2 separate regions of the Homo sapiens genome follow, and region 2 is linked to region 1. Evidence: promoter capture Hi-C in human tissues and cell types (Jung and others, 2019). All regions are on one chromosome and are shown on one strand. The core of a region is centred on a gene start or on the middle of the fragment in contact, and the rest is flanking DNA. Distances in the headings are between cores, read along the strand shown.

Region 1 (3,067 bases), core at 229-2,728:
TGATAAGGCAGAGCTGAGGTCCTTCAGAATTGACAGAGATGATTTAAAAACAGTTCAGGACAGGCGTGGTGCCTCACGCCTGTAATTCCAGCACTGTGAAAGGCCGAAGCGGGTGATCACTTGAGGTCAGGAGTTCGAGACCAGCCTGGCCAACATGGTGAAGCCCCGTCTCTACTAAAAATACAAAAATTAGATGGGCATGGTGGTGGGCGCCTGTAGTCCCAGCTACTCAGGAGGCTGAGGCAGGAGAATCACTTGAACGTGGGAGGCGGAAATTGCAGTGAGCTGAGATTGTGCCACTGTACTCCAGCCTGGGTGACAGAGCTAGACTCCAGCTCAAAAAAAAATAAAAATAAAAATAAAAATAAAACAGTTCAGCTTTGGCCTAGGTAAAACGACACGAGAAGACAGCTGGGGGAGAGGATCAAAATGGTGACGGGAAGGGGTGAATGCTAAGAATGTGATGCAACTTTAGAGAAAACATTGTAGTGAGGAGGTCACTGACGGGAAGTTGATACTCAGGGTGTATCATCCCGTATTTGAGAAATTACAACTTGCCAGCCATTCTTCTAAGAGCTTCACATATATTTAATCTTCACACCAGCCCTAAGAGGTAGGGAAAAGGTACATGCTCCATTATCCCCATTTCACATATGAGTAACTCAGAGAAGCTTAGAACCTTGCCCAGGATCACACAGCTCAGTTGGTGGGAGGGCTGGGATTCGACGTCAGGCCTGTCAAGCTCCAGAGCCGCGTTCTTAGCCGCTGCATTTTAGCTTCATACCTGGAAGAAGCAGCAAGGTTTAGGGAAGGGGCGCCGGGAGCGCCGCAGGCCGGGCCAGTGAACACTGAGGGCCAGCAGGGCTGGGCGGGGTGGGTGTGTGCGGGAGATCTCTGAGGACGGCGAAGCCAGACGGGGGCCGGGGCCGGGCCCGGGCTTGGGGAGGCCGGGACGGCCGGAGCAGCGGCGCGGAGGCTGCGGGCGCCGAGGGGGCCCGGGGCTGGCGGGTGGAGGGGCCCCGCCGAGAGGAGACGGGGGCACAGGTGGATGCGAAGAGCGCACCGGATGTGGGACACCAAAGGGGAAGGGGCCACAGGCGCGCGGCGGCGACTCCGGGGTGACATCGAGACAGCCTCTGGGCTGGGAGAGCCCTGCGGGAAGAAGGGAGCCCGCCCGGTCCGGAGGGGAGCGAGGCGGTTCTGAGGGAGGCCGGCGGAAAGGACCCGGGGCGCGGCGCACGCTGGGCCGCCCGGGACGACCCTGCGGGTGGTGATGGTGGCAACATCCAAGGGAGTCTGTTGGGGGGGCCTGAGCGCGACCGTGGGCGGGGGGGTCTCCTCAGGGGCGGCTCACCCGGAGGACTGGGCGGCGTCCCCGCTGTCCCCGGGCTCCGCCGCGTCCCGGGGCTGCCCGGCTTCCCTGCTTTCGGGGCCACGGGCCGCGTCGCGGCTGCTCCGCCATCTCCGAGCGAACGCTCTGCCGCAGCCTGGCCCAACCACCGCTCCCACCGGGGGAGGCGGCGCGCCGCCGCTGGTGGCACCCGCTCGGATCCACCGGCTCCGGCCCTAGCAGCCGCGCGACCTGGGTTCCGGGAAATCAAGCGGCCCTCCGCAGTGCCGGGCCGAGCCGCGGCCTCCGAGACGGCGGGCTCCGCGCCCCGCCCGCGGAAGCGCACCCCCTCCTCTCCGCGCGATGGCACTGCCGGCCGAGCGTCGGGGACCACGACTTCGGAGCAGGGGCGGGCTCAGGCCTGGGCTCATCCACTCAGCCCCGCGGAGGGGGAGCCGGGCCGGCCCACTCGGGGGAGGGGAGGAGTAAGAGGCGGAGCGGCCTAACCGGAGGCGGGACCAGGGGCGGGGCGAGGCCCTCAGCCGGCTCCCAGGGCACTCACCCTCCCTCCCCGCCCCGCGTCGCCTGCGCAGCACCGAGCGCTGTTTGGAGGCTGTTTATGAGAAGTTTTTTTTTTTTTTTTTTTTTTTTTTTTTTTTTTTTGAGACGGAGTCTCACTCTGTCGCCTGGGCTGGAGTGCAGTGGCGCGACCTCGGCTCACTGCAACCTCCCCCTCCCAGGTTCAAGCGATTCTCCTGCCTCAGCCTTCCGAGCAGCTGGGATTACAGGCGCCCGCCACTATGCCCAGCTAAATTTTTTGTATTTTTTAGTAGAGACGGGGTTTCACCATATTAGCCAGGCTGGTCTCGAACTCCTGACCTCGTGATTCGCCCGCGTCGGCCTCCCAAAGTACTGGGATTACAGGCATGAGGAAGTTTTATTCTCAAAAGTACCCAAAGGGAGTAGGAGGAGGTACTCTCTCCAACCTGGTAAGCCAGGCTGCTAAAATCTACGCCTCTGGCCGTAAACCTCCAACAGCAGTAACACAATGGACTGTTTAAAGGTTATTTTATTAAATATTTTCAGTTCAAGGTTTCATTGTAACAAAGCTATGAAGGGTCTACCAACATTCAGAACAAACACTATTTTTAAATTATTTCTATGTTGTCATGCAAAAATTCTGCATCAAATGCCTTCCGTTTCTTGTTTAAAAGGTGATTTTTTAATAGTCTATTGTCTATAGATGCTGACATTAGCCCCAGAAGAGGAGTAAGAATGCTAAGAAGTGGGGCTGGAGCAGCCATATGAAGCTATGGGTCTCAATGAATTCTAAGACCATTTGTCTTCAAGCCAGCAAAACGAAACCCTGTGGTGAAGGGATTTGCGTGCTGGCACTGCAGACTGCAGGGCAGGAAAGGGCTAGGGCCCAGGGGCTGGGACATGCATGAGGTGCTCGGAGGAGCCTGGCTAAATCCAAGCACCAGCACCTGTGAGTCTGCTCTCTTCTCAGCTGGCTCCCAAGTAAACCTGTAGCTTTGCCTCTTCTCCCAGCTCTCGTGCCTCCTGAAGGTAGTCCAGGGAACTGGAATCTACCCACCTTTCCCCCAAAAGTGGAGATGTTTGTGCAGATAAATCTGCAGCGTTGTTTTGAGGGAAACCAAGGCCATGACCAATTGCTCCTCCATTATCTTCTTTGCTATCTGCTTAGGGTATAGATCTCTTCCTCCTGGAATGGAA
Region 2 (3,067 bases), core at 300-2,799, 260 kb after region 1:
CAGACCTAGGAGAGAAGAGCTATTGTGGTTAAATCTTATTTTGAAATGATTATTCAGGCATCTGAGCATTAAATATTCAAAATATATAAACGGATACCAGCTTTTGATGTTACAGACATATAACATGAACTTGAGGGTCTTTAAAGTATGAATGAGACCAATGACAAGATATGTTAGATGTTTAACCTGCTTAACTTGATTGTTATCACTTTATAAAATTCATTTGTTTTATGTGAAATGTTGATTTTTAATTAACAGCATTTTTATGAGGTTCCAGTGTAGGTGTTCTGTAAAACTTAATGGCAGTTAAGAATTTGAGCCATCACTGAAGATCACCTGGAAATAGGTTTCTCTGGTGGCTTTAGAGTAGTCCTCTTAAAATTTCTCATAATACTGGCGAAAATTATATTTCCCCAAATGGAATCTTATGCAGAATCCCCAAACAAAAAAAGACAAAATGGAGCTACTTTAGGTGAAGCAGGAGCAGCCCCACCTCTGCTTCTCTTTGGTCTTGATGGTCTGTGAGACAACTTGAGAAATCCTAGGAGTAATTTGAAAATCAAAGCTTTAGAGAATCACATAGCGCCTTTGAATAACAACCAACATAAACAAAAAGTGCTAGCAGAGTGATTCCAAAACACCAGATGCTTTCAAACACTGTCATCCCTATAATTATTTTTATAATATTTCTATTTGTTTCTAATTATAAAACTAGTACATGCTTATTTTGGACAAATTGGAAAGTACAGACAAATAGAAATATGAAAACAAAACATATCATTGTTATTCTTAGAACTTTTTTCAGCCACTAGATTCAGTACTAGGCTCATGTGAGATTTTTAGCACAGAGTTCAGAGACATGGCATGAAACCTGTATGCATAGAAGCCTGGCAAAATGTTTTTCCCTTACCTGTGAATTTCTTTTTAATAAATATATATTTATTCATTTAGATGTTTAATATTTGTGAATATATTTATATCAAAATATGAAAATGTTTATCACATTTAGTGTTTACATTTAATACATTACTTTCATTGAAAAGAGTAATGTTGCATAAATTAGAGTTCAGTGATGGTGTCTGTTGTTTAAATAAGTGAGCAATCGGTTTGAACTTTCATAGTATTTCATAATGGATTTAGACTGAGAAAGCCAGACCCGGGATTGTTTCACTACTCACCCTGCACAATTTCTTCTTTGTGCCCCAGGAATGACTAAGATGGCCAAGATGATTGACGAGAGACAGCAGGAGCTCACTCACCAGGAGCACCGAGTGATGTTGGTGAACTCGATGAACACCGTGAAAGAGTTGCTGCCAGTTCTCATTTCAGGTACTTCCTGCCTGTACTTTATTTTATAGGGGGGAAAAATGTTAGCATGTTCTAAACTCTGAGGTTCATTTTGTTTTCTTTTGTTTTCTTTTCTTTTTTTTTTTTTTGAGATGAAGTCTCACTCTGTTGCCAGGCTGGAGTGCAGTGGTGCGATCTCGGCTCACTGCAACCTCTGCCTCCTGGGTTCAAGCGATTCTCCTGCCTCAGCCTTCTGAGTAGCAGGCACTACAGGTGCGCACTGCCATGCCCAGCTAATTTTTGTATTTTCAGTAGAGACGGGGTTTCACCATGTGGGCCAGGATGGTCTTGATCTCTTGACCTCGTGATCTGCCTGCCTCAGCCTCCCAGAGTGCTGGGATTACATGCGTGAGCCATGGCTCCTGGCCTGAGGTTCATTTTCTTTTGTGGCTTCACTGCATGTCCTTCAGCCTAGGTAAAAATGAGACCCGATTGATTGGTTATCACATGATGGCTGTAGCTGATTGGCTGAGAACCAGTCTTCTTCTCTAATGCTGTCCTTCTCCTGTTCTTTGTTTGAAATTGCCTTTCTGTGGCCTAATTCTGTTCTCCTAAAGCTCTAACAAGCCCCTTTGCTGGGAGGTGGACTCTCCTCTATAAACTCTAGCCTAGGATATTAAATTTTCACACCTTTGTGTTATAGAAAAATAATTAGGAGCTGGAATGGATATTATAGAGCATCATATGATAAAGACATGAACTCAGAGCCCTTTTTAGTGTGTATTAATCCAATTTTTCCTAAAAGATATTTAACTGTTGTTTACATCATGAGTAGATCAGTTCTTTAGTCACCAGCTGGGACTACCTTCCCATTGAGTAGTGCTCTGAAATGCAAACATGGTAGCTGCTCTCTCGACTAGCAAAAGGGAGTAGCACTTATTGAGTGTCTAGTATATGCCAGACAGCTCATGGTTTATATGAATTATCTTAGTCAAGTTGTGGGTTAATTAGTTATTTCTCAGAAGGCAACTTTATTATAAAAATCTGGTGACTCATGTCATTGTGACTTCCAGCTACCTGCTTTGGTGTTTCAAGTAGTAGCTAAAAAAGGACATATGAGTATAAGAGTTCAGGAGGCTGGGCACAGTGGCTCACTCCTGTAATCCCAGCACTTTGGGAGGCCGAGGTGGGTGGATCACCTGAGGTCAGGAGTTCGAGACCAGCCTGGCCAACATGGCAAAACCCCGTCTCTACTAAAAACAAAACAAAACAAAAATTAGCCAGGATTGGTGGCAGACGGCTATAATCCCAGCTACTCAGGAGGTTGAGGCAGGAGAATTGCTCAAACCCAGGAGGCGGAGGTTGCAGTGAGCCGAGATCACGCCGAAAGTGTTGGGATTACAGGCGTGAGCCACCATGCCCAGACATTATTTTTTTCTTCTTTATGTTTGGGGGTTGGCAAATCCAAGCTACATGTTGAGAGAAATCTCGGATGATAAACTTGACATCTTGGGATCTTCTGCTGGGATCAGGGGCAGCAGGATACGCCATTCAGAGTATTACTGACAGTTTTCATATTGTCCCATTAGGTTTGTAGTAGATGGAGCCAGGGTGAGGGCCAGGATGATAACTGATTTAGAAGGATATTAGATATTTTGTGATTGCAGGTCATCAGCATATGCAGGTTAAATTAGTTACTTAATCATGTTGTGATGGTGTCTTTGTACCTTGAGTTTTCTTTTTCTTTTTTTATTTTTACAATAAAGGTTGTTAATGTTGG

Evidence for each region. Contacts are between HindIII fragments. The study calls those that stand out against the background at their distance.
Region 2: a fragment that was not itself captured here is called in contact with the fragment with the promoter of NDST2 in region 1 in 2 of the 25 tissues and cell types used here (lymphoblastoid cells and spleen).

Annotation. Positions count from the first base shown.
Region 1 is chr10:73,810,120-73,813,186 of GRCh38, forward strand. NDST2 (N-deacetylase and N-sulfotransferase 2) reads right to left here and starts at 1,479. Exons shown (of 15, transcript NM_003635.4): 1 at 1,355-1,479; 2 at 680-784. CAMK2G (calcium/calmodulin dependent protein kinase II gamma) reads right to left here. Exons shown (of 23, transcript NM_001367534.1): 23 at 2,382-3,067. It overlaps NDST2-ZSWIM8-AS1 (NDST2-ZSWIM8-AS1 readthrough), which reads right to left and starts at 1,701. Exons shown (of 18, transcript NR_182658.1): 1 at 1,355-1,701; 2 at 680-784. RefSeq lists silencers at 914-983, 1,284-1,993. The HindIII fragment of the contact is 10,328 bases long and covers 294-3,067 here.
Region 2 is chr10:74,071,524-74,074,590 of GRCh38, forward strand. It overlaps VCL (vinculin), which reads left to right. Exons shown (of 22, transcript NM_014000.3): 5 at 1,207-1,329. It overlaps LOC124902458 (a long non-coding RNA gene), which reads right to left and starts at 1,255. Exons shown (of 2, transcript XR_007062200.1): 1 at 1,179-1,255; 2 at 227-541. The HindIII fragment of the contact is 3,366 bases long and covers 1-3,067 here.